Linked DNA regions of Homo sapiens: all the other regions are linked to region 1. The links are contacts of gene promoters, found by promoter capture Hi-C in blood cells and fetal thymus (Javierre and others, 2016). All regions are on one chromosome and are shown on one strand. Each heading gives the region's core, a stretch centred on a gene start or on the middle of the fragment in contact. The rest is flanking DNA. Distances are from core to core; before and after follow the strand shown.

What was found. Contacts are between HindIII fragments. The CHiCAGO score rates a contact against its expected background, and 5 or more counts as called.
Region 2: the fragment with the promoter of PHPT1 here is called in contact with the fragment with the promoter of NELFB in region 1 in 8 of 17 cell types (neutrophils, fetal thymus, naive CD8 T cells and 5 more); the score reaches 9.8 in neutrophils.
Region 3: the fragment with the promoter of DPH7 here is called in contact with the fragment with the promoter of NELFB in region 1 in 11 of 17 cell types (naive CD4 T cells, total CD4 T cells, non-activated CD4 T cells and 8 more); the score reaches 8.7 in naive CD4 T cells.
Region 4: the fragment with the promoter of FBXW5 here is called in contact with the fragment with the promoter of NELFB in region 1 in 12 of 17 cell types (erythroblasts, M0 macrophages, total CD4 T cells and 9 more); the score reaches 10.0 in erythroblasts.
Region 5: a contact is called between the fragment with the promoter of ARRDC1 here and the fragment with the promoter of NELFB in region 1, in 6 of 17 cell types (naive CD8 T cells, M0 macrophages, non-activated CD4 T cells and 3 more). The highest score is 9.2, in naive CD8 T cells.

Annotation. Positions count from the first base shown.
Region 1 is chr9:137,253,850-137,258,927 of GRCh38, forward strand. It overlaps NELFB (negative elongation factor complex member B), which reads left to right and starts at 1,478. Exons shown (of 13, transcript NM_015456.5): 1 at 1,478-1,762; 2 at 2,058-2,221; 3 at 2,480-2,579; 4 at 2,975-3,205. The coding sequence starts at 1,517. It also overlaps a transcript of CIMIP2A not described here. RefSeq lists silencers at 846-1,025, 1,216-1,585, 1,596-1,775, 1,816-1,875 and enhancers at 886-1,833, 1,834-2,781. The HindIII fragment of the contact is 15,726 bases long and covers 1-5,078 here.
Region 2 is chr9:136,847,824-136,852,519 of GRCh38, forward strand. It overlaps PHPT1 (phosphohistidine phosphatase 1), which reads left to right and starts at 1,586. Exons shown (of 3, transcript NM_014172.6): 1 at 1,586-1,767; 2 at 2,190-2,314; 3 at 2,932-3,201. The coding sequence starts at 1,608. The coding sequence ends at 3,024. AJM1 (apical junction component 1 homolog) reads left to right here. Exons shown (of 3, transcript NM_001080482.5): 3 at 1-978. It overlaps MAMDC4 (MAM domain containing 4), which reads left to right and starts at 4,523. Exons shown (of 27, transcript NM_206920.3): 1 at 4,523-4,639. The coding sequence starts at 4,594. RefSeq lists silencers at 528-757, 978-1,037, 1,118-1,197, 1,378-1,437, 1,828-1,907 and 1 more and an enhancer at 1,558-1,837. The HindIII fragment of the contact is 15,345 bases long and covers 1-4,696 here.
Region 3 is chr9:137,576,426-137,581,566 of GRCh38, forward strand. It overlaps DPH7 (diphthamide biosynthesis 7), which reads right to left and starts at 2,500. Exons shown (of 9, transcript NM_138778.5): 1 at 2,200-2,500; 2 at 1,045-1,178. The coding sequence starts at 2,352. RefSeq lists enhancers at 1-45, 2,780-3,751, 2,846-2,905 and a silencer at 2,186-2,595. The HindIII fragment of the contact is 6,073 bases long and covers 1-4,179 here.
Region 4 is chr9:136,941,377-136,945,987 of GRCh38, forward strand. FBXW5 (F-box and WD repeat domain containing 5) reads right to left here and starts at 3,362. Exons shown (of 9, transcript NM_018998.4): 1 at 3,218-3,362; 2 at 2,515-2,730; 3 at 1,973-2,130; 4 at 1,393-1,567; 5 at 1,171-1,319; 6 at 670-1,090; 7 at 161-308; 8 at 1-87. The coding sequence starts at 2,707. It overlaps C8G (complement C8 gamma chain), which reads left to right and starts at 3,867. Exons shown (of 7, transcript NM_000606.3): 1 at 3,867-4,082; 2 at 4,258-4,394; 3 at 4,553-4,611. The coding sequence starts at 3,945. RefSeq lists an enhancer at 1,775-2,540 and silencers at 2,376-2,445, 2,826-3,405. The HindIII fragment of the contact is 9,073 bases long and covers 1-4,611 here.
Region 5 is chr9:137,603,077-137,608,151 of GRCh38, forward strand. ARRDC1 (arrestin domain containing 1) reads left to right here and starts at 2,610. Exons shown (of 8, transcript NM_152285.4): 1 at 2,610-2,759. The coding sequence starts at 2,642. It overlaps LOC124902318 (a long non-coding RNA gene), which reads right to left and starts at 2,262. Exons shown (of 3, transcript XR_007061885.1): 1 at 2,221-2,262. RefSeq lists silencers at 1,872-3,001, 3,012-3,281. The HindIII fragment of the contact is 16,425 bases long and covers 155-5,075 here.

The DNA.
Region 1 (5,078 bases), core at 228-2,727:
CACCAGGGCCCAGCCCCACTTCCCCTAGGCCTTGAGCTGAAGACCTGGCTGGGCTTAGTCACCTGTGCCCTGAACACTCTGGCCCAGGGCCCTGCAGACTCCACTCCCGGGGCCTTCACCTGCTGGGACCCTGCACTGCCCCTGCCTGCAACTTCGCCTGGCTGGGGCCTCCCTTGTCATCACTGGCCTGCCCTCCTACCCAGGGTCGGGCCCCAAGGCTGCCACCTTGCAGGAGCCTTACCTGCGGTGCCGTCACCCGCACCTCCCCAGGTCCTCCCCAGACCCAGGACCCAGACCAGGCCCAGAGCTCAACCCCTTCAAAAAGGCTCTGGGCAGCTGCTTCTGTGGCCTCAGCACCACCCCCTTTCTCAGAGAGGAATCCCAGGCTCAGGATTGTGTGTGTGCTGTGACCCTTGTCCTCCTCTGCCACCGAACCAGCTGGGGGTTGGATCAAGGCACTGGAACCCTCGCCCTAGGGCTGACCAACTTGGCCAGCGGCAAGAGAGCTGTGGTAGCCATGGCCTTGGGAGCTCGGCCCGGCTTGTGGGAACAGGAGCTCTGCTCACGGCTGCACCACCAGGCACCCCTGGTGAGACCCAAAGCTAGGAGTGGGAGCGGCAGGAAAGATGGAGCGATCTCCTCCAGCTGGGCTGAGGAGGGAGGGCTTCCTGGAGGAGGTGGTGGAGGAAGAAGCCTTCAAGGAAGAGCAAGAGTTTGCTGGGCAGCGGGAAAGAAATTTCTAGAGAAAATTTCAGCAGCGGAGACCGAAAAGAGAGAGGGTGTGTGTAGGGGGCTTGGCGCGGCACAGCCTGCGGGAGGGCGGCGGGCTGGAGAGGCGGGGAGGCCCGGGGAGCCCACCCGCCTGGGATAAGAAGGGACACTGTGGAACCTGGACTCTCCTTCACGGCTCCGCGGAGCTCGGTGGGCGCCACAGCCTCCCGGTGCCTGGGAGGGCGGCCGTCGCTCGCGCTCCCGCTGCGGGCCCGGTCTCCGCCAGGCCCCGGCCCCCTGAAGGCGCTCAGATCTCAGTTTTGGCGACAGCGCCGGGGTGGGCTTCGTGCCCGTTTCACGCGGAGGAACCCACGCTCAGGAGGGAGTCTGCGCCTGTGTCCGGCCCCTGCGGGGCAGAGGGGCGGGGAGCTCAACCCCCGGCAAAACGTCCCCGCTGCGCGTGGCTGCCGCGAGATCTGCAAGAGCGTTTTCCACGCTTATGTACACGAAATTCACTCGGCTGCGACGACGTCCGTTCCCGGAGCAGACGGACCCTGAGTCCGCCCCCCACGCCCTCACCCGCCCTCTTCTGCCAGAAAGCCCGGGCGCGGGCGGGACCGGGTGGGCGCATGCGCGCTGGGCTGGCTGGGCGGGGTCTCTCGCGCCGGGTGAGGGCGCTGCTCCCAGGAACCTGCGCGCGGCCCCGGCGGCGTTTCCCGGGGGCCGGTTGGCGGGCGGACCTGGGCGGTGCGGGGCGGAAGTGGGCGGCTGCGGGACGCGCGCGGAGTCGCGCGGCGGGCGGGACCTGGCCGAGCTGGAGGGCGCCGGGGAGCGGGGCTCGGGCGGTCCCCGAGGCCCGGCGGAGCGGGCTTCTGGGGTGTCTGCGGCGGCGCCGGGGGAACGGGCTGGGGATGGGGCGCCTAGCCGGGCGGTGGCCGGGGCCTCGGCCATGTTCGCGGGGCTGCAGGACCTGGGCGTGGCCAACGGCGAGGACCTGAAGGAGACCCTGACCAACTGCACGGAGCCGCTCAAGGCCATCGAGCAGTTCCAGGTGGGGCGGCCCCCGGGGCGGGGGGAGCCCAGTTGGAGGGCCGGGCCGCCTGCTCGGGAGTCGGGCCTGGCGGAGGCGCCGGAAGTTTTCCGGCTTTCTGCTGGTGGCTGAGTCCTGTTCTGGGGGTGGAGTCCGGAGCCAGCACCCCTTTGCTGGACGGCTGGGTGGCTTTCGGTGGCTGCGGTTACCGCCAGCACGGCTGGGAACACCTGGGTGCGTGCCTCCCTGTGCTCTCAGGACCTCGGGGTGCCCGGGCGCACTGGGCTGCGTTTGAGGTTTCTCTTGGCTTCCTCAGACAGAGAATGGTGTGCTGCTGCCATCTCTTCAGTCAGCCCTCCCCTTCTTGGACCTGCACGGGACGCCGCGGCTGGAGTTCCACCAGTCGGTATTCGATGAGCTGCGGGACAAGCTGCTGGAGCGAGTGTCAGCCATCGCTTCGGAGGGGAAGGCTGAGGAAAGGTGGGTCAGCGGGAGGGGTGGGCAGGTGAGATGTGCAGCCGGCCTCTCAGCCTTGGATCGACTCAGGGGCATTTATTGTCCTTTTGGCTCCACATCCTTGCTCCCAGAGGTGGCCTGGGCCTGTGTCTGAGTGACCCCTTGACCCATGTGTCCTGGGCGTGGAGGCTTGTCCTGGTAGCTGTTATCTGTGTAGGGACAGGCAGGTAGCTGCTGCGATTTGGCGCATCGCTGCACCATCAATCCTGTGAGTTGTTCCAGGTACAAGAAGCTGGAAGACCTTCTGGAGAAGAGCTTTTCTCTGGTGAAGATGCCGTCCCTGCAGCCCGTGGTGATGTGCGTCATGAAGCACCTGCCCAAGGTAGGGCCCTAACCCTAACCCTGATGGCGTGGACCGTCCGCCCACTCTCATGCCCTTGGTTAGTGGAAGTTCCGGTGGCCGCCTAGCTCCGGGAGCTTCCTGTGCTGCCTGCCCAAGTGCTGTCCATGGTGAGCTCTGTGCTGACTTCTCCCACATGAGCCGCGTGGAGACCGAACCTTAGCACTGGAGTTAGGGTGTGGGGCCCCTCCTGGGAAAGAGCTGTTGGTATTTAGCATGTCTGTCTGACATGCTGGGGCCGGGGAACCAGTCATAGGTGCCCTGTGGGGTGGAGCTTAGCTCGAGGTGGTCTCTGCGGGGCTGAGGCCTCTTGGCTTGTCTTGAAGGAGACCCAGGGACACAGGTGCCACTCACAGGCAGCCTGTGGTGTCATGTAGGTTCCGGAGAAAAAACTGAAGCTGGTTATGGCTGACAAGGAGCTGTATCGAGCCTGCGCCGTGGAGGTGAAGCGGCAGATCTGGCAAGACAACCAGGCCCTCTTCGGGGACGAGGTTTCCCCACTCCTGAAGCAGTACATCCTGGAGAAGGAGAGCGCTCTCTTCAGTACAGAGCTCTCTGTCCTGCACAACTTTTTCAGTCCTTCCCCCAAGACCAGGCGCCAGGGCGAGGTGAGGGGACAGGCCGTGTGCGGGGTGGGGCACCTCTTGGGGATGCCACGGCTAGCGCCTTCAGCTGCCTGGGGATCAGCACTCTGCTGCCCTGTGAATGATCGGGTGGTTCTGCTTCTTGGCTGGGTGGTGGGGGAGGGCTGGCTTGTACACATGCTGGAAAGAAAGTTGGTTGTTTTTCTGTTTGCATTTTACTTTTCGTTAAAGTGATATATGGACAACATTTAAAATCTGCGGAAAGCCCGCTCATGTGAAGTTAATCCCCCCTCCCCTACTTTTTTTCTTTTTCTTTGAGACGGAGTCTCGCTCTGTTGCCCAGGCTGGAGTGCAGTGGTGTGATCTCGGCTCACTGCAAGCTCCCGGGTTCACTCCATTCTCCTGCCTCAGTCTCCCGAGTAGCTGGGACTACAGGCGCCCGCCACCATGCCTGGCTAATTTTTTTTCTTTTTCTTTTTTTTTTTTTTTGAGACGGAGTTTCGCTATTGTTGCCCAGGCTGGAGTGCAATGGCGTGATCTCGGCTCACTGCGACCTCCGCCTCCCAGGTTCAAGCAATTCTCCTGCCTCAGCCTCCCGAGTAGCTGGGATTACAGGCATGCATCACCACGCCCGGCTAATTTTGTATTTTTAGTAGAGATGGGATTTCTCCATGTTGGTCAGGCTGGTCTTGAACTCCTGACCTCAGGTGATCCGCCCCCCTCGGCCTCCCAAAGTGCTGGGATTACAGGGGTGAGCCACCGTGCCTGGCTTTTTTTCTTTTTTTTTCTTTTTTAAGAGACAGGGTCTCACTCTGTTGCACAGGCTGGAGTGCAGTGGCGTGATCACGACTCGCTGCAGCTTTGACTTCCTGAGCTAAAGTGATCTTCCTGAGTAGCTGGGACCACAGGCACGTGCCACCACACTGGGGCTACTTAAAAATATATATATATTTTTGTAGAGGTGGGGTCTGGCTATGTTGCTCAGGCTGGTCTTGAACTCCTGGGCTGAAGCGATCCTCCCACATCAGCCTTCTAAAGTGCTGGGATTACAGACATGAGGCACCATGCCTAGCCGAGATTTGTTGGGGTTTTTTTTTTTTTTTTTTTTTTTGAGACAGGGTCTCACTCTGTCACCCAGGTTGGAGTACAGTGGTGTGATCGTGGCTCACTGCAGCCTCGACCTCCTGGACTCAAGCAATCCTCCTACCTCAGTCTCCTAAGCAGCTGGGACCACCGGTGTGTGACACCATGCCTGGCTAATTTGTATACTTTTTGCAGAGTTGGTGTTTCGCTGTGTTGCCCAGGCTGGTCTCGAACTCCTGGGCTCAAGTAATCTGTCTGCACACCTCAGCCTCCTGAAGTGCTGGGATTATAGGTGTGAGCGACCACAACTGGTTGTGAGATTTTTTAATTAGCCAATTTTTTTTTTTTTTTTTGAGACAGAGTCTTGCTCTGTCACCCAGACTGGAGTGCAGGGCCTCAATCTCGGCTCACTGTAACCTCTGCCTCCTGAGTTCAAGCAATTCTCCTGCCTCGGCCTCTCGAGTAGCTGAGACTACAGGCGCGCCCCACCATGCCTGGCTAATTTTTTTATTTTTTTGTTTAGTACAGACAGGGTTTCACCATGTTGACCAGGCTGGTCTTGAACTCCTGACCTCAGGTAATCCGCCCACCTTGGCCTCCCAAAGTGCTGGGATTACAAGTGTGAGCCACTGCGCCCGGCCCTAACCAACTTTAAACTAGCACTGTTCAGTGGAAAAAGCGAACTATAAGTTAAGATTTTTCAGCATCCACATTAAGAAAAAAAAATGAGATCAACTTCATTAATGTTTTCTTTGGTCCAGTATATCCAAAATATTATCTTTCAGCATGTAATTCATGTGAAAGATTGGGCTGG
Region 2 (4,696 bases), core at 336-2,835, 410 kb before region 1:
GGTTTCCCCTCGTCCAGAAGCCCGACGTAACCAAAGCCCAGTCTGTCACTTTAAACACGCCCCGCCCCGCCTCCCGCGGCTGTGTTGCCTCCTCGCTGGAGAACACCCTGGTCGACCTCTGTGCGTCCGTGTGCGCGAGCGCGTCCCGCCGAGGCGGTGGGCAGGGCGGACGGTGCGCAGTGCGTTCCCGCTGGTCGGAGCCAGCACACTAACCACGCCACGCGCCCTGCCGTCCCTTCGCCTCCAGCCGCTGCAGTCTGGGCCCTGCAGGAGCTGGGAAAAACCGCAGGGAGGTCTTCAGGCCGATATGCAAGTCTCCCAGCCGAAGGGGCAGGGGACCTGAACAGGGGAAGCAGAGCACCTGGGCCTGGCCAGAGCTGACACCTGGCTAGGAGAGGAAGGACCAAGGGACGGGGCGTTCCCAGGTGGGAGCCTGGAGGGCAAAGCGTGGTGCGAGCAGGTGAGGGAGAGAGCTAGTTGGTAAGCGTGGAAGCCCACCCGAGGGGGCTTGACCTGTCCCGAGAGGTCCCCGCACACCCGCTCTGGCCGCACGCCGTACTGCGGGCGTGGAGGCGCAAGCCCGGCGGCCCGGCCTCCACCTGTCCCCCAAGTGCACCCTGGTCCGCGCCCAGAGCTCTCTGGAGGGTGGGGTATGCGGGAGAGGGGTGGAGGCCAAACGCAAGGGCCCTCCTGGAGTCCCCAGCCCTACTTCGGAGCCAGGGGAGGGGGCACCAAGTGAGAGAAATTGGGCACCCCCGCCTCCGCTCCTGCTTTCGCACCCGGCACGCCCATCTCGTCCCCGCGCGTCTGCACCGGCCAGGCGTCCCGCTTGCCCACCCGCCGCCGCGCCCCGCGCCCCCTACCCCAGGGCCTCTGCATTCGGCCCCACCCCTGAGGGCCGGCCGGGAACGCCCCTGGACCGGAATAATTTCCAGGGGGCAAGAGCTTTCGAACCAAGTAAAATAGAACTTGAATGTAGCGGCTGCCGTTGCCTCCTTGTACCGGTAGCGGGGTTGGGGACGGAAGCCTTCGGTCGGTGGAGAGGAGAAAGGGAGAGGCCTTCGGGCGGTGGACGGGGAAGAGAGGGAGTCCTTCGGGCGGTGGAGGGGGTGGAGAGCGAGGCCTTCGGGCGGTGGAGAGCGGGGAGGGGGGAGGCCTTCGGGCGGTGGGAGGGGGAGAGAGGGAGGCCTTTGGGCGGTGGGGGCCACGGGGAGGGTGGTCTTCGGACTACGTGCGGGACAGGAGGTCAGGGCTGGCAAGTCCCTCAGGCCTCCCTCGTTGCCCCAGCCTCGCGGGCCGCCTAACTGCCCCGTTCCAAGGGTGCCACCGGACCCCGCTGGAGAGGAACTTCTCCGTTGGCTGGATTTCATCACCACCCATTCCCGATTCCACGTTTCCTTTAAGCGGGGCTGGCGGAGCCGCAAGGCGGCAAGGAACTGGATTGCGATTGGTCAGCACGTGCCTCGGTCGGCGGTACAATTGGCTGAGGCGCTGGGCCTTGGGAAGCATTCCCCGACGGGATTGGTCGTCGCTCTCGCAGAGCCCGCCTCCCGCAGTACAAGCGGCCCCCGGGTCGGGTGGGAGGAGGGGACTCCGGGAGGAGGAACATGGCGGTGGCGGACCTCGCTCTCATTCCTGATGTGGACATCGACTCCGACGGCGTCTTCAAGTATGTGCTGATCCGAGTCCACTCGGCTCCCCGCTCCGGGGCTCCGGCTGCAGAGAGCAAGGAGATCGTGCGCGGCTACAAGTGGGCTGAGTACCATGGTGAGGGCGGGACCTGCGGGCATGCCAGGGGCACGCCTGGCGAGGCGGGGGCGGGGCTGGCGGGACGGAGACGGGGCTGACGAGGCAGGGGCGGGGCTGGCGGGGCGGGGGCGGGGCTGCGGGCCGTAGCGGACTGCGCTCTGCTCCGAGTCCTGCCCCTGCTAGGTTTGACCCAGGCTGAGGTCCTGGGCGGGAAGGGCGTGACACGGCCTGACACCCTCCCCAGCAGTCTCCCAGTTCCCGCGCCCTCCCCGGTTCCACCCTCCTTCGCTCATTCATCCCTGTCCCAGCCTCAAGGGGCTTCGTCTCTCCTGGGGAAGGGGCTGTTCAGAGCTGGGATTTCAGACCCCTTCGGCTGGGAGTTCCTCCCGCGGCCTCCAAGGGCGGCCAGGGCACGTCCTGAGGCCGCCCTCCCATCCCAGCGGACATCTACGACAAAGTGTCGGGCGACATGCAGAAGCAAGGCTGCGACTGTGAGTGTCTGGGCGGCGGGCGCATCTCCCACCAGAGTCAGGACAAGAAGATTCACGTGTACGGCTATTCCATGGTGAGCCGCAGCCCCGTCCCGCCCTGCCGGAGGCCCCAGTACCAGCTTCGAGGCCCACCTGAGCCTGCTGCCCTGACCCGTGGCCCCAGCTGAGCACGCAGGCTTCCTGGGGTTCTCCCAGGGTCGGCGGCAGAGCCCTCCCTCCAGGGCCCATTGTGTTCCTGCATTCCCCCATGGAGCACACGCCAGACCTGAGGGGTGGGACGGACACCCCCAGACATGGCCGGCTGTCTCCTCTCCCTGCCTTGGGAGGCCTTGCTGGGCTCTAGCTGTCCTCCAGCACTTTGGGCCCTGGGCCCCCAGAGGCAGTCAGTACCTGGGTGGAGCTCAGAGTCCCCACCTGTGCTCTTCACAAAAACCACCAGCAGATGAGACCCACGTGCGTCCCTCTGGGCGCCTCAGGCCCCAGGATCCACCATCAAGGTTTGCTTGCCTGTGGAGGTCGCCTCTCCCCAGGGGAGCCCCCAAGGGCGGTCGGGATGGTGGGTTTGGCATCCCCAGGCACTGCCTATCCCTTTCCCACACTCGCTTCTGGTGTGGCTGGTGGCTGGATGCCCAGAGCCGGGTATCGGGTTGAAGGGTCCAGGTAGTGCCAGCAGGCGTCTTCTCTTCTCCAGGCCTATGGTCCTGCCCAGCACGCCATTTCAACTGAGAAAATCAAAGCCAAGTACCCCGACTACGAGGTCACCTGGGCTAACGACGGCTACTGAGCACTCCCAGCCCGGGGCCTGCTGCCTCCAGCAGCCACTTCAGAGCCCCCGCCTTTGCCTGCACTCCTCTTGCAGGGCTGGCCCTGCCTGCTCCTGCGGCAGCCTCTGGTGACGTGCTGTCCACCAGGCCTTGGAGACAGGCTAGCCTGGCCACAGAATTAAACGTGTTGCCACACCTGCCGGCTTCTGAACTCTGTCCTTGGCTTCCTGCACCCTGCGTCACCACCTCCGGGGGCCCCCAGACCCTAACTAAAGCAGGTGGGTGGGGGAACACAGGAGTGGCCCCAGGGAGTGGCGGTGCACACTCAGCCCTTTGGGGTCTGATAAAGGGGCCCGCTGATGGCCTGACTGCTCTTCCCACGGCCATCGTCCTCCAGGGCATCTTGGAGGAGGTCTGGCAAGCCCTTGCGAGAGGAGTCAGGGCCTGGTCCCTCGGGCTGGCCAAGACCTGGGGCGCCCACCAGTGCTCCCTCCTATGAGCCCATCCCAGGGCTCCCCAGTGTCCTGTCTGCCCTGAGGCTCCTTCCGTGACCTGCAGGCTCCTTCCATGACCAGCCCCATGGGGCCTACCAGTATCCAGGGTCAGGTCGCACAGCTGCATCTACCCCACAGGCTCACGTTGACTCTGGAGGCCCCTCCCAGGTCCCTCTTGCACCCGGCAGGGCTGTGGGCAGGACACGGGTTCAGGCCTTGCCCTGGGAAGCCCCATACACAGTGGGACTCCATGGGGTGGTGCAGGGGCACCCTGGGGGCCAGGGCTGGTTGTACACAGGGCACCCCCACCTTTGTCAGCTCACTGGTCCTCCGGCCAGCCTCTCCAGACGGGCACTGTCATAACCACATTTTACAGACCGGGACACTGAGGCTCAGTGACACAAGCTCCGAGGTCACACCATGGGAAATCACAAACAGGGCCTGGCCCCAAATGCCACACTCCTTCCCCAGCCCCAAAGACCCTGCCCCAAGCATGAGTCTGCTCCATGAGAAACCGAAGTTTCTGGGCTCCTAGGGACCCTGTATCTGGCACCGGACAGCACCTGGCTGCTCAGGACGAATGAATGACGGCGTGATCCTCCACAGCCTGACTTAAAGGCAGGTTCCCCACGGCTGAGAACGCAGGGACCAGCTCTGGTGCACGTGCTGGACTCCTGCAGCTGCTGGACTGGTTGAGTCCTGACCTTGGCCAGCACCACGCTATTGCCAGAGGCACAGTGAGAGGCCACGGCGGCCTCTGCCCGCCCCACACTGCCGAGCAGAGTCCTGGTGGGGTGCCTGGGTCCCTCCCCATTCCAGTGGGAGCCTCCCCTTCACCAGGCAGGGCAGGGCAGGGTGGAAGAGCCTGACCTTGTGTCTGAGGGAGCCGGGCAGGTGGGAGCTGACCCTGGGTCAGAGGCCCCCTCCTGGGGCCACTTTCACGGCCCATGCTTGGCACCGTCAGCACTGGGTGGGGCCGGGCCGAGGGGCCCTCCACTTAACAGCAGAGTCAGCGTGCGGGGCCAGCGCAGGCTGATAACCGCACGGAACTTCCCAGGCACCCTGTGTGGCCGCACTGCTCCCTCTGGCCCAACCATGCCTCTGTCCAGCCACCTGCTGCCCGCCTTGGTCCTGTTCCTGGGTAAGTAGTCTGGTCCCACTCCTGAGGCAGGACCAGGGGCCCTGGCTTCTGAGCCTA
Region 3 (5,141 bases), core at 1,250-3,749, 320 kb after region 1:
AGAATACAATATAAAGGATAAAAAACAGGTGGCCGGGCATGGTGGCTCACACTTGTAACCCCAACACTTTGGGAAGCTGAGGTAGGAGGATGACTTGAGGTAAGGAGTTCGAAACCAGCCTGAGCAACATAGCAAGACCCTGTTTCTACAAACTAACAAACAAACAAAAATGAGGTGTGGTAAGGCCAGGCGTCGTGGCTCACGCCTGTAATCCCAGCACGTTGGGAGGCTGAGGCGGGTGGATCACGAGGTCAGGAGATCAAGACCATCCTAATAACATGGTGAAACCACGTCTCTACTAAAAATACAAAAAAATAAGCCGGGTGTGGTGGCGGGCGCCTGTAGACCGAGCTCTTAGGGAGGCTGACGCAGGAGAATGGCGTGAACTCAGGAGGCGGAGCTTGCAGTGAGCCGAGACCGCGCCACTGCACTCTAGCCCGGGCGACAGAGCGAGACTCCGTCTCAAAAAAAAAAAAAAGAGGCATGGTGGCATCTACCTGAAGTCTGAAGTCTCAGCTACTCGAGAGGCTGAGACAGAGAATTGCTTGAGCCCAGGAGTTCAAGGCTGCAGTGAGCTATGATCACGTGACTGCATTCCAGCCTGGGCAACGGAACAAAACCCTGCCTCAAAAAAAAAAAAATTAAAAAGGATAAAAACTGGTACACCTGTATAGGGCATCTCCATTACGTTAAGGCACCACCATGGTATACGTGCTCCATTGTTGACCAAAACATAATTATGCCACACACCACTGCATTTAAATCTCAGCTCCAAAAGTGGGCTAGAGCCTACAACTGTGTTCTCAAACAAAAGACGCCCCAGGTTATGAAGTCAGAAAACTCCCATCACTTCCCCGGCTGGAACATGACAAAGGAAATAAGCCCCAGGTAAAGCACTCCCCAGGTGGAAGATAGGCGGGACAGCAAAGAAACAAATCCAAAGTTGAGATGCAATGCCTGTCTTGTTGAAGGCATCAGGCATCAGGCTTCCCTGATTGCTACTCATGACAAATTCTACACCCAGTGGGATTATCACAGTTATACCATTTCATGTCCAGGATTGCAGAAGTATCTTTTCTTTGGACCTCGACCAGAGGGTGAATAGAGTTGTTGTCATTGAAACTGTACAGGAAGAGACGGCCTAAACGGACCTGAGGCTCCTTAACTTCCATTCCACCCTACAAAAAATGCAGAGGTAGTCTCTGATTATCCCAAGACACGAAGGAACCCAAAGGATGGGAAAAGGGATCCAAGGAACTCAAAGGTTTGCCATGACTAAAGGAGTGGAATTCTGCCTGGAAGGAGAACCTCTGGTTTTCTGAGCTGGAGAAACGTCTATTAATGAGTAGGTGAACACTCCTGGACCCAGTAGAGAAGGCTCCTTCTAAACCGGCCAACAGGGACCAGCTATGGCTAGGGTAACCACAGAACCCAGTTTGCCTGGGACAGTCCTGACTTACGCCTGTTGTTCCAGTGCCCAATTTGGATCCTAATATGTACCCACCAGAAGTTAAGATATAATTCCCACTTTCTCTTTACTGTACATTCCACCCATTCCCTTGGGCCACACCTGTATATAGAAGACGTTCTGCTCTCAAGATTTTAAAGTTGGCCGGGGGCGGTGGCTCGTGCCTGTGGTGCCAGCTACTCAGGGGGTTGAGGCGGGAGGATGCCCTGAGCCCTGGAGTCCGAGGCTGCACTCCAGCCTGGGTGACAGTGCAAGACCTTGTCTCAGAAAAAAGTAATTTCTTTTTTTTGAGATGTAGTCTTGCTGTATCGCCCAGGCTGGAATGCAGTGGTGCGATCTCGGCTCACTGCAAGCTCTGCCTCCCGGGTTCACGCCATTCTCCTGCCTCAGCCTCCCGAGTGGCTGGGACTACAGGCGCCGCCACCACGCCCGGCTAATTGTTTTGTATTTTTTTAGTAGAGACGGGGTTTCACCATGTTAGCCAGGATGGTCTCGATCTCCTGACCTCGTGATCCGTCCGCCTCGGCCTCCCAAAGTGCTGGGATTACAGGCGTGAGCCACTGCGCCCGGCCGAGAACAATTTTTTTAAAAAGATTCTAAACTGTTTCCAGCCTACCTCCTGGCCAAAGGGCCAATATCCCCTCTTCATCTCCTGGGCGATTCGGTGCGCCTTTCGGCCTCAACCTCGTGGCCGGCCCCGCCCTCCCCTCCCGAAGCCGCGGCGCGCGCACCTTGTTCTGGGGGCCGGCAGGCCGGTCCTCCGGCCGCCGCAGCTGGTAGGTCCCGCACGCCAGCAGGTGCCTGCAGCCTTGCAGCGGGCACCACTCCACCGAGTCCGCGGTCAGCTCGGTGTCCACCGTTTGCAGGGCGAAACAGCCCATCATCCAGCCCTCGGGGAAGGGCGCGGAGCCGGCAGTAGAGGCGGGTCGGCGGGGCCGGGCTGGGTACTGCGCGGGGCGGCGAGGCCGGGGCCGGCCGGACGAGCGCAGAGCCCCAGGGACACCGTCAGCGCGGGCCGCCTCTCTCGCGACTCCTTCCGGGGTGCCGGGGCGGGACATCCGGCAGGGCCTTGGCCTCCGTGGACGCCCCTGGGAAGCCAGGCTCCCACGCCCCCTGTCGGCCGGCTGACCGCGGCGGGCTTCAGGCGTCAGACGCGCTGCTCCCTGCGGGGCCGTAGAGACCGAAGGCTTCGGGAAATCCGCTCCTCCACAAAGCAGGTTTGGAGACGGCAAGTTAGTGACAGAGCCGTAGGTTTGAAGCCGCCTCTGCAAAATTTCTATCACTGAGAAAAACCCCAACAGCGAGCTGCGGTAGCGCACCCCGTGGCGCCCTCCCGGTTACTCCTGGCCATCGGGCCGCGCTGACTTAACATTTAGGCTGCAGTTTCCATGACAGGCCTTGCCCCGGAATCAACGCCTTCGTAAAGCTGATGAGGAGCCCGCGCCCCACTAAGCCCAGCACCCCGAGGCCGCAGGCGCGCTCTGCCTGCCTCCTGTGAACCCGCCATGGCGGAGCTGCCCCTCAGAGACCGCCTTCCAGGGTCTTTGCTTGTCTGACACCCGTGGCTGCATCAGGACCCCCCAGAAGCGGCTCAGCAGGTGGACGGCTCCGACCCCTATGATTATCAGCACCAGTCGCCTGGCCGCCGCCCCCCTCCCCCAAAACTGCCTTTGAAAAAACCCCTAACCTAGGAGCTTTGGACAAGATGATCTGAGGACGAACTCCATCTCACATGTGGCCTGGCCGGCCCGTGTCTATTAATTTTTTTGTTTTTTTTTTTTGAGACGGAGTCTTGCTCTGTCACCCAGGCTGGAGTGCAGTGGCGCGATCTCAGTTCACTGCAAGCTCCGCCTCCCGGGTTTAAGCCATTCTCCTGCCTCAGCCTCCCCAGTAGCTGGGACTACAGGCGCGCATCACCACGCCCAGCTAATTTTTTGTATTTTTAGTAGAGACGGGGTTTCACCGTGTTAGCCAGGATGGTCTCGATCTTCTGACCTCGTGATCCACCCGCCTCGGCCTCCCAAAGTGCTGGGGTTACAGGTGTGAGCCACTGCGCCCGGCCCTAAACTTTTTTTCTTTATTGCAATCCACGGTCTGAATGTGTGCAGCGGGCAGGAAGAACCCCTTGGGCCGTTACAGGTTGAACTGTGCCCCCCAAAAAACAATGGACTGAAGACCCCAGCACCTCAGAGAGCATCCTTAACAAACAGGGGCTCTCAGAAGCAGCAGGCGTGGGCCCTGACCCAGAGGAGCAGGAGTCCGCAGAAGAGAAAGCTGATGCAGAAGACTTGCAGGGCCATTGCTGTGCAGAGCACAGGGAGGCAGGCAAGGCACCTGGCAGGGAGGAGGCGTCCGCACCTGAGGGCCCTTGCCTGCGCCTTCATCTGAGACTCCGGCCTCCAGAGCCTAGACTGTGAATTCCCGCTGCTTCAGGCTGCACAGCTCGCGCTGCTTTGTTGCGGCAGCTCCAGGAAGCTAAGGCGGACTTGACTGAAATATACGGGTGCCTGGGTATTCAGCCTCAGGGCTTCAAGCAGGGCTGTGGCTAAAGACATGGCAGAGAGCCAACAGCTCAGACCACCACAGAGACAGAGGCGCAGAAAAGGCTGGCCAGGAAGGCAGCAGGGCATTCCAAAAGGGCCTCAACCACACACCTCTGCGGGGGAGGGAGAGTGACCAGGTGCGCATCCCAACACACCACACTCCAAACAAGCTTTAGAAGCAGCCCCACATTGCAGCCATCTGGATGTCCTCACAGGACGTCTTAGATACCTGGCTACGAAGACCAAGAAGTCGGGGCCACGGAACGGGAAAGATGACCAGAGGATTGGGTATCAGGTGAGAGGGAAGCAGTGGTGGGGCCCGTCCCACCCTCACGGTGCCACCTGCTGGGGTGAGGCCTGGAGGAGCTGCCACATGCAAACCTAGAACCTGCACCGCCCCCTTCCCCAGCGTGGTGTCTCACAGGTGGGAGGCCCTGGGCGCTTCTTTCAGTGCACTTTTCTGATGAATGACTGCCAAACAAAGCAGCCCTGCTGGTCAGGGGCAACATGGCCACACCCCTGGATGCAGGTAAAGGGGACCCCTGCACTCCGTGCTCATCCTCAGACTCTATCTGAAAGCAGGCTGCCTGAGGGCACTCGGGGCTCCAGGCCTGAAGACTGCCCCAAACCCCAACCTGCTGACCCGCCATCTCTAGGGACACATATGTCCCCCTCCCTGGCAGCTTTCACCTACTCAGCAAAAAATGTCCCCAACCTTTGCAGCAGCTAAGGGGGCTTCTCAGGGCCTGATGTGGGCACATGCAGTTCTCTAAGCTCCAGGAAATCCTGCGGAGTTTGTTGATATCACCCATTTTCAGCAGTCCTGTTCTTCAGGAGCCCCCAGGGTACTGCCAGAAAAGGTACTGGAAGTTTTGCTTACAGACAAAAGCCAGCCCAGCCAGGGGCAGCAATGAGAACACACAGGGTGTCCTGGAACATGGCAGTGGAGCTTCAAGAAGGGAAAGTGTAGCAGCAACCTGTGGGACCAACACAGGGTCGGACCGGACCAGACCAGACAGGTCAGAGTCGGACTGGCCAGGCTTCCAGCTCCCAAGAAGCAAGGCCTCTGGCTGGGCGCACCTGGAGACAGGCAGGATCCCAGCCACACAGCCTGGCATGTTTCCCTGGGG
Region 4 (4,611 bases), core at 2,112-4,611, 310 kb before region 1:
TCAATCTCCTCCGCGATTGGTGGCGGCTGCATGGGGTCGGCCACCACCGCACCGTTGGGCCAGGCGCGGCTGTTCACGTACAGGTACCTGGGCGAGGGGCACTGTGCTAGGTGTGGGCCGCCTGCGGGCACCCCGCCTGGGACACTGGCAAGAGGCCCACCTGTTGTCGGGCGACAGGCCCATGCCGATGATGTGTCCGTGTATGTCTATGACGTGGTCCAGCGCGTCGAAGAAGGCATCGGAGCCCCGGCCCTCACCCAGCACGGGCCCTGCCGTGGTCATCTGGTGTGGCAGGATCTGCTTGATGCCTGCAGGGAGGGCTACGGTGAGGGTCCCTGTCCAATGCCCCAAGGACATCACTCCAGGGCAGCTTCCTACCTCAGTGGTGTCTCTGGGGCTGTGAGCACCACAGAGGTCCGTGGGCACTGCCTGCTCCGGGGGCCCCAGACCTGAATCAGGCCCGTCGGTTGCTTGCTGGCCAGCGGCCCTGCCTGCGTTTGTTTTCACTGCTCATCCCACAGGCCCCAGGTCTGGGCTTGTGACCCCAGGGGCGAGTGAACGATCCCAGCTTTGCCTGTGGACTTGCTTGCTGTCTGCCCCTCAGGACCCCTGCCCGGCCTCCCCCAAGCTCCTAGGACCGAGGCGGGCAGCATGGCGGCAGGGGTGTACCGATCTGGTGTGGGGAGTAGGTGAGGCAGCCAGTGGTGAAGATGAGGTACTTGCTCTTGGCGCCTGTGGCACTGCGCTCGGGTGGCTTGGTGTGGCCCTGGGCCAGCAGCTCGGCCACCTTGGTCTCTAGCATGCGCTCCGACAGCTGTGGCTGCGCCCGCCCCTCCAGCACGCGGTCCAGAAAGTGCCGCAAGCCCTCCTTGGCGTGGGCGGGGGCCGGGCCAGCCACCACCTCCTCGTTGTCGCTGCCCAGGTCAAAGATGCGGCAGGGGGACGTGGCCGGGTCACCGGCTTCCAGCAGCAGGTCAGGGCTGTCGAAGCGGCTGCAGTCGGCCACCATCACCGTGCGGACGGTGCTGGCATTGAGGTTCTGGATCTTGAACAGCCGCTTCACCACGTTGACGTTCTCTGACTCCACATCCTGGGGGCGGGGGCACGTGCCAGGTGGGCGCCGGGCGCCAGGCCCCAGGAGGGCAGCCCCGCCCCTAGCCCCGCACGCACCTGGAAGGCATTGTTGAGCCACAGCACCGAGCAGGAGGTGATATCTCCGATGCGGTGCAGGTTCCCCGAGATGAGGCTGGTCTCGGTGAGCCAACAGCCAAACACGTCATAGGGCTTGTTCCGCACGCGGGACAGCAGCGCGAAGGAGTCTGTGGGGAGGCCGGGGCTGGACAGGCTGTCGGCGTGGGGCGGGGGCAGGGTCAACCCGCCGCCCGTGCTCACCTAGGCTGATGACAGCAATCTCGCCGGATGAGGAGTTGTGCGGCCCCAGGAACACCCCCGAGGCCAGCAGTAGCGAGTCGTCCTTGTTGAACTGGGAGAACTGGGTGTAGCTCCAGTTGTAGGGCCGCATGTCCGCGCTGTGCAGCAGCGAGATGGTCAGGTCGTTGCTCCAGATCTGTTCGGCAGGGGCGGCTGTAGTGATCGCCTGGCCAGGTCGCGGGGCGGGGGCCTGCTACTACACAGCCATGAGGCCCCAGCTCTGCCAGCCCTACTCAGAGGCCACCAGGGAGCAGGGACCCCTTCCAGCCACTGTCATCCACTCGGGGGGCATTGGTATAGAGCGGAGGAGCCTGCCCCTGAAGCAGGCGGCTGTGTGTGGGACCCTCTCCTCAGCACTCAGGGCCACCCTGCACCGCTCCTGATCCTCTGTGGTCCCTCCGCTGGATGCAGGGAGGCTGCTGTCACCTCTGGCCTGACCCACCCCCCCCCCCACCACCACCTGGTTGGAACGCCTGGGTCCTGGGACCTCCGTGCTGCGGCAGAGCTGGGTGGGGTGTGCAGGACACCTGGCCGTCCTCACCTTCACAGTGCAGTCCTTGGAGCAGGACGCGAACTGGTACCCGGAATGGGAGAAGCTGAGGTGCAGGACCTGGTCTGTGTGTTCCCGCAGCGTCTGCACCTCCACGCAGGGCACCGTGTCATACAGCCGCTGGAACTCCTCGTACCAGGACATGGCCGCTGCGGGTGGGCAGTTGTCAGTCCTGGGCCCGGGCCTTCCTCGCAGTCACGGCCATGAGCCGAGTGTGGCCCCAGCAGTCCTGGCAGGCCCCGTGGTGCCCCTGGAACCCACTAGTCATGGCATAGGCCTCGGCTGGGGGATTCAACCCTGTAGCTCACAGAGACCCCTGTACCCCCCACCCCCCAAGTGACCCAATGAACCCTCTGGCCTCCAAGCTCTGAGGGGCGCCTGCGCTGTGTCCTGACAGGCCTCTATCAGGGTGTGGGGGGGTGAGCATGGACACGCGGGGCCGCGGGGCGGGCCCCCAGCCAGGCTGACCCCCAAGCGCAGGGGCCCGGGGCCCTGGCTGCAGAACGTGGGTAGGGGCCCCACACGCCACTGACCTGGGTGTCGGGGCACGTCGCGGGCCACCTGGTAGTAGCGGTAGAACTGCTCCCTCCACAGGAACTCGTCCCGCGACACGGCCTGCCATTGGCGGCACACCAGCCCGGCGGCCAGCACGTCGGCCGGGCCCAGGCTCAGGAAGATCTGGTAGACCAGGCTGTCGGGGAGCAGGGGCGTGCCGCCCTCGTCCATCGTGACATTCTGCCCAGGCGGCCCTGAAACCCACCAACGGCTGCCCTCAGCCCAGGCCCGGGAAGGGAGGCCGAGAGCGGGCGTCCTGTTCCTCCAGCCCCAACCGTCCCGCCGGGAGTTCCACGGGGCTGCGTGTCTGCAGGGGACGCCCGGGTACCGCCGCCCAACCAAGGACCCGGCAGCTCCGGGCGGGCCGGGCCGGCCCCTCTCCGCCGCGTCATCCCCCGGCCTCCTGCGGCCGGCAGCGGGCGCCCCTCAGCCCGCCAGGGCCCGGACCGCCGCACGCGAGGCACGGGGACACCAGGCGCCGTCCGGGGACGGGCTTCCGCCGAGAGGAAGCTCGGGGCGGCCAGGCAGTGGCCTCCGCCCTGCGGCCCTGGAGCAGCTCTGCCCGGCGGGCTCGGGGCGGACGGCGGGGACGAGCGCACGGGCGGCCTCGGGGCTCCTGCACTCGCCCAAGGCGGGCGGGGACGACAAGGCGGGACCCCCGAGGGCCGCAGGCGCACTCACCACGGCCGCCTCCGCCCGCTGCGCCGCCCCCGCCCTGCGCGACCCGGACCCGCTTCCGCTGCCGCAGCCGCTCGGACCGCCGCCCCCGCCCAACGGGGAGCCCGCCAGGCCCGACGCCACGAGCCCCGAGGCATCGATGGCCGAGGAAGGCAGAGCGCGCGGGTAGCCCGCATCCGCCCCTCGTGCGCCTGCGCCTTGGGCTCCGGCGGCCTGGCCGGCTTTTCTTTGTGCGCCTGCGCGCACTCGGGCGCATTGGGAACAGCGCCCCTTGTGGCCAGCGGGCGGCGGTCGTGGGCGGGGTTGCAGGCGAGGCTCAACGAACGCTGGTTCGGGACCCGCCTCCGGCGCTCCCTGTTGCCGGGCCCTGAGCAAGTGGCTTCATGAACCCCGTGACGTTGGCCATGGAGATAAGACCACTGGGTGATGGTTTAAGGAAGATAACGTGTAAAGGGCTAAGGACTGTCGGTGGAAATCAGGGGTGCAGGAGAAATGGATAAACAGCCAGAGGTCAACTCGGACTTTGTACATAGGACATGGTGCCAGGGCCCTGCCAGGAAGTGCAGATCGAAGCTAGGCTCACGAGGAGGCTGGAGGTGGGGGGTGGGGAGGCAACGGATGGACATGGACTTCCTGGGCTGGGCTCTGTGACAGCAGAGTAGACTCTGTCCTGGGACTTGGTGGTGCTACCCTTGGCCTCCCACAGTCCTGCCACCCTGCTGCCGCCACCATGCTGCCCCCTGGGACTGCGACCCTCTTGACTCTGCTCCTGGCAGCTGGCTCGCTGGGCCAGAAGCCTCAGAGGCCACGCCGGCCCGCATCCCCCATCAGCACCATCCAGCCCAAGGCCAATTTTGATGCTCAGCAGGTAGAAGTTGGGGGGGGTAGAGGGAGGCAGGTAGAAGTTGTGGGAGGGGTAGAGGGAGACAGGTAGAAGTTGTTGCGGGGGAGAGGGAAGCAGGTGAAGTTGTGGGGGGTGTAGAGGGAAGCAGGTGAGGGGCCCTCCCACAGTGCCCTCGAGTTCTCCCATGGTCTGCCCCCAGTTTGCAGGGACCTGGCTCCTTGTGGCTGTGGGCTCCGCTTGCCGTTTCCTGCAGGAGCAGGGCCACCGGGCCGAGGCCACCACACTGCATGTGGCTCCCCAGGGCACAGCCATGGCTGTCAGTACCTTCCGAAAGCTGTGAGTCCCAGAGCAGCCCTGCACCCTAACCCCAACCCTCCTCTCAGCCCCCGGACTTCAGCCCTGCTCTGGCCCCTGACCCCACCCCGGCTGTGGCCTGGACTAGGATTCCTGGTTGGGGTCTCCCAGCCTGTGGTGCCTCCTCCCCGCCCCCCCAGGGATGGGATCTGCTGGCAGGTGCGCCAGCTCTATGGAGACACAGGGGTCCTCGGCCGCT
Region 5 (5,075 bases), core at 1,360-3,859, 350 kb after region 1:
GCAGGAGGCTGGAAGGATTGCCTGTGTGGATTCAGAAGCACTGAGTTTCCACACTTGGAGATGGAGGGAATGACAGTGAGTTAGGAGCTAAAATCACCAAGAAATGAAGATGCCGACCAGAGCGAAGGTGGTGCTGGTGATTCTGAGACCAGGAAGCTTACACATGGTAGCTCCCAGGGTGGAGAATGGCCTGGTAGTGTTAGGAAGGAGCCAGGAGGGCCCCAACCCCACCTACAGACCCAGAGGTAGAGGGATCCTGCGAAAAGATATCTCTACACCCGAAAGCTCCAGGGGAAGCCAGGTTTTCATGAGAGTGCAGCTAGAAGTATGCTTGGAGAAGAAGAGTCTAATGACAGGGCGGTTGGTGCTGGTGGTGGTTTCTGGAACACAGGATGGGTGGGAGATAGGGTCAGAATCAAGGATGTGCAGAGTCCTGTGGGGCTTAGATTGTGGCTGACCTGGGATAAAGGCCACCTGTGTTCTGTGTCCATTGTCTTCCATCTCAGTAGCTTGCAATACAGTCTGTCTGTCCCTTGCTTGAAACACTTTCTTTTTTTTCTTTTTCTGTTTTTTTTTTTTGAAATGGAGTCTCACTCTGTTGCCCAGGCTGGAGTGCAGTGGCGTGATCTTGGCTCACTGCAAGCTCCGCCTCCTGGATTCACGCCATTCTCCTGCCTCAGCCTCCCAAGTAGCTGGGACCACGGCGCCTGTCACCACGCCCGGCTAATTTTTTTTTTTCTTTTTGTATTTTTAGTAGAGACGGGGTTTCACCATGTTAGCCAGGATGGACTCGATCTCCTGACCTCGTGATCCGTCCACCTCGGCCTCCCAAAGTGCTGGGATTAGAGGTGCGAGCCACCGCGCCCGGTGAAACACCTTCTTTCTGACTTCTGGCATGGCCGACTGCCATTCGGGAGGGCTGTCCACAATCCTTGCCATCCCATGGCACCCTTCTCTCTTGTTCGGGAATTCTGCCTGTGCATAGCCTTGGCAGGAAAGTGTCTGGAGCATGGCCAGTTAGACCCACCTCCGGAAACATCGGAATCCTAAGGGAGTGAGCTGGGCCTGGGGCTTCAGGGCCTCTCCCAGCCTGGCCCGGGGGCCCCTCCAGCCTGTGAGCCCCTTTCTCTTTGCTGGGGTGCCAGACTCCTCCTCCCTGACCTGTTACCTTCTACCAACTAGGGATGGCAACATTTTAGTGCTTGACTCCCAGGCTCATGCACGGAAGTACTTGGTCCATTGGGGATCAGTGGCACCTCAGACTCTGCATGTGATGACCCTCCCACCCCCAAACCATGTGTATCTAGGTCCGTCCTCCCCATCAGAGAAGGCCACCCTCTTCACCGGCTGTCCTAGAAAAACTCGCAGCACTGGGGCCCGCACACCCACTCCGTGGTGAGCTGGTCCTTGTCGAGCGACGCCTTCCCTCTCCAGGACTACCCAACCGGTCTCTCCCGCCTTAGGTCCCCTGGGTATTTGAGTCCCACCCCCCGCGGCTCACTCTCTACAAAGGGACCCTTTAAAAAAGATAAATGGGAGTGTGTTCCTCCTGGTTTCAAGTGATCCAAGTCCTCGCCCCACCTGGCCCCCGACCCTTCTGCTGCGGACCCCTGCCCAAGGGCCTCCGCCCAAGTGTGGCTCCCTTGGGCCCACACCCCATCAGGCCAGCAAGGAGGGGGATAGCGGGGGGCGGGGCAGGTGCTGGGACTCCGGGCAGGTGCGGGGAAGGCAGGGGGCGGGGGGGGAAGGGGTTGGGCGATGCAGGTGTTGGGGGCCGGGACAGTTGCGGGGGTAGGCAGGTACCGGGAAGGCGGGAGGGCGGGCAGGTTCCGGAGGGGCGCGACAGGTGCTGGGACGCGAGGTAGGTGCGGAGAAGGTTGGGGGTGCGGGGCAGGAGCCGGGGGTGGGGGTTGAGGCGGGGCAGGTCCTACGCGGCGGAGCATCCCCGCCCAGGACGCCCGCGCGGCCCCGTGACGTTTTTCCGCGACTCGGGGTGAGGGAGACCCCTGGGCGGGACGGGCGGAGGGTGGGGGCGGAGGAGTGGGTTCTGCCCGCAGCAGAGTGCAGCGGGGAGACCTTCCCAGTCTCAGAGCTCGCCTCGGCCCCGCCCCCAGCCCTGCCCCCCGACGGAGACGCGGCGGTGACTCCCTCCGTGGGGGACGCACGGGACGCTTGCGCCTCAAGTCCCTTAAGCGGCGCCCGACGCAGCGCAGCACCTACCCAGCCGGGACAGGGCCAGGGCCGGGGATGGATGAGCGCGGCCGGGGGGCGGGGCAGGGGTGGGGCGGCCGAGGCAGGGGCGGAGCTGGGAAGGCGAGGCAGGGGCGAAGGGCGGGGGCGGGGCGAGGAGGCTGTCAGAGGGGCGGGGAATAACGAGGGGGCGGGGCCACACGGACGGATGGGGCGGGGAATAGGGGCTGGGCCGGGCCTCCGAGCGGCAGTCCGCGGGCTACGGGGCGGCCGGGGGGCTGGGCGGGGCCGTGGGGCGGGGCAGGGCCTGGGAGGGGCCGGATGGGGGTGGAGGCCGGGATTGGGACGGATGGGGGCGGGGCATAGGAGGGGGCGGGGCCGGGCCTCGGAGCCGGGACTCGCGGGCGGCGGGCGGGGGCGTCGCTGCGCGGCTGGCCGGTGAGGCCGCGGCATGGGGCGAGTGCAGCTCTTCGAGATCAGCCTGAGCCACGGCCGCGTCGTCTACAGCCCCGGGGAGCCGTTGGCTGGGACCGTGCGCGTGCGCCTGGGGGCACCGCTGCCGTTCCGAGGTGGGCGCGGGTCCTCGGGGAGGGCCTTTGGCCGCACCTGCGCGGGGCCAGGGCTCCCGGAAGCGGCTGCCGTCGCCTGGCCCCGGGTTGGGCCCGCGGAGTCGCTGTCTTCGCCGCCCGGGACTGCTGGGAAGCGGGCTCGGCGGCGCCGGGGAGGTCCGGGCGGCGCCGCCCTTCCGCGTCTGCCCTTCCTGCCCTCTCGCCGAGGGGCGGCGGGGTCCCGGCGGGGCCTGAAGCGGGTCCACTGTGGAGGACGCCCTGAGCGCGGGCGCACGCAGGCCTGCGACCCTCCCCGTCCGCGCTCGCACCTGCTGGGCTCCTTCCCGCACCCTGGCTCCCGGCGCAGGCGCTCCCGCTGCAGAGCCGCTCCTGGCGCGGGCGTGCGGTCCCGGCGGGGTGCAGACACCTGCTGCGGCTCCCTGCGCCCCCTGCCACCCGCCAGCAGGCCTCGCCGGCCCCCCGCCGAGGTGGACGCCTGGGCCTCGGGGACTGGGTATCGGGTTGCTGCAGTGGCCGCTGGCAGGGCGCCCTGGAGGTGAGGGCCGGCCCGCGAGGTGAGGCTGCCTCTGCCCGGCCCTTGGCTGTGAGTGCCGCGTCCCTGCCGGGGACTTCTCTACCTTGGCCTCCTGTGGGAACCACCTGGGCTGCTTGGCCTGTGCCACAGCCCCTGGACTTGCCGCTGGACCTTGACCGCTGGGCCCGCGCGTGGGTAACAGCACCGATTTTGTGCCTGCTGAGAACCCACAGTCTCTGTTCTGTCCTCTCAGCCTCCTGGGACAGGTGATGGTGCTGTGGCCCTGACCCTGCACCGCCTGAGGCTGTGGGGCCTCGGAAGAAGCCGGGTGGTAGGTGCTTCTGTCAGGCTCCTGGCCCCACTGGGCCTCCTGGGATGACCCCACAGCCTCCCTTCCTCTGTCCCAACCTTGAGTTTGGGGTCTGGGTGGGGGCAGGTGTGGCCGTGGCAGGGCAGAGATAGCACACACATCTCTTGGGTACAGGTGTGGTGTGTGGTGAGGCCGGCTGGATCCTGGTTGAGGGCTGTGCAGGACCCTGTCGTCCTTCCCCTGGCGTGGCCTGGGGTGAGCAGGCCATTGCTTACCACAGGGAAGGGACGGCCCCGCGGTGCGTGACTGGCCTGGGTGTGCAGGCTCCCCTGGCCTCCGGGTGGACGTGGTGGGTGGGTTGAATGCTCACGCCTGTAATCCCAGCACTTTGGGCAGCTGGCCCAAGAGCCGAGGGAGCACTGGCTGATGGTCCTACCTCACAGAGGCTGGTCTGAATGAGGGAGAAAAAGGAGGGTCGTGAGCTAAGGAGTAGGAGATGGGCCCTGATGGGCCAGAGAGCACATGATTCAGGCTGCTGCAAGTGAGGTGGGAGGGTGTACCGGGGCCCCCGGGGGTTTCCCCCAGCCCTGCCTGGGATGGGAACAGAAGGACCATGGTTTCTTTTCCTCATTCAGAGGATGCTTGTCAATCCTGCTAGGAGCCAGTAGGGAGGCCCTCAGCCCCCAGGAGGACAGCAGCCCTGCCTGGGCCCCAGAGCTTGCTCACTTACTCTGCCGATGAGTGTCGGTGACAGTCAGCACCCAGCCGTGAGGACACCGGCTGTCTAAAGGGCTGACGCGGAGGGAGGCCTGGGAGGGAGCAGTTTTCTGGAGCTCAGGCTGGCCCAGTCCAGGGCTGGGGTTCAGGCAGGACCACTTCTTGTTCTGCTGTTACTGGGATGGGCGACCAGGGCCGACAGTGGTTCTCGGAGCACTCATGGTGGGCCCGATGCAATTCTCTCCACGTGCCACGGGCCAGCCTCAGTTAACCCTCAGCGCCCTGGCAAGTGGCACGGTTGTTACTCTCATGATACAGATTTGGAAACAGGACTGGGGGAGTGGCTTACAGGTCACAGCTTCTGTGGCAGGCGTGAGTCCTTTGGGATGAGGATGAGGAGTGGGTGGGTCTTCATGGTCCAAGTGCAGGTGGTGCAAGGGAGGGGCTGCTGAACAGGTGGGAGCCCCAGCTGGAGAAGAAAGTTCCAGTGGTCACTTGAGAACGCAGCCCAGTCATGATCTTCCTTAGAGTCAGAGAGGCCTGCAGCCTCCAGCAGCTTGTCCTTGCTTGTGCATCTGAACACAGGAAACATTTTTTATTTTTATTTTTTTAATTTATTTTTTCGAGACGGAGTCTCCCTCTGTCGCCCAGGCTGGAGTGTGCCGGCGCGATCTCGGCTCACTGCAAGCTCCGCCTCCCCGGTTCACGCCATTCTCCTGCCTCAGCCTCCTTAAGAGCTGGGACTACAGGCGCCCGCCACCACACCCGGCTAATT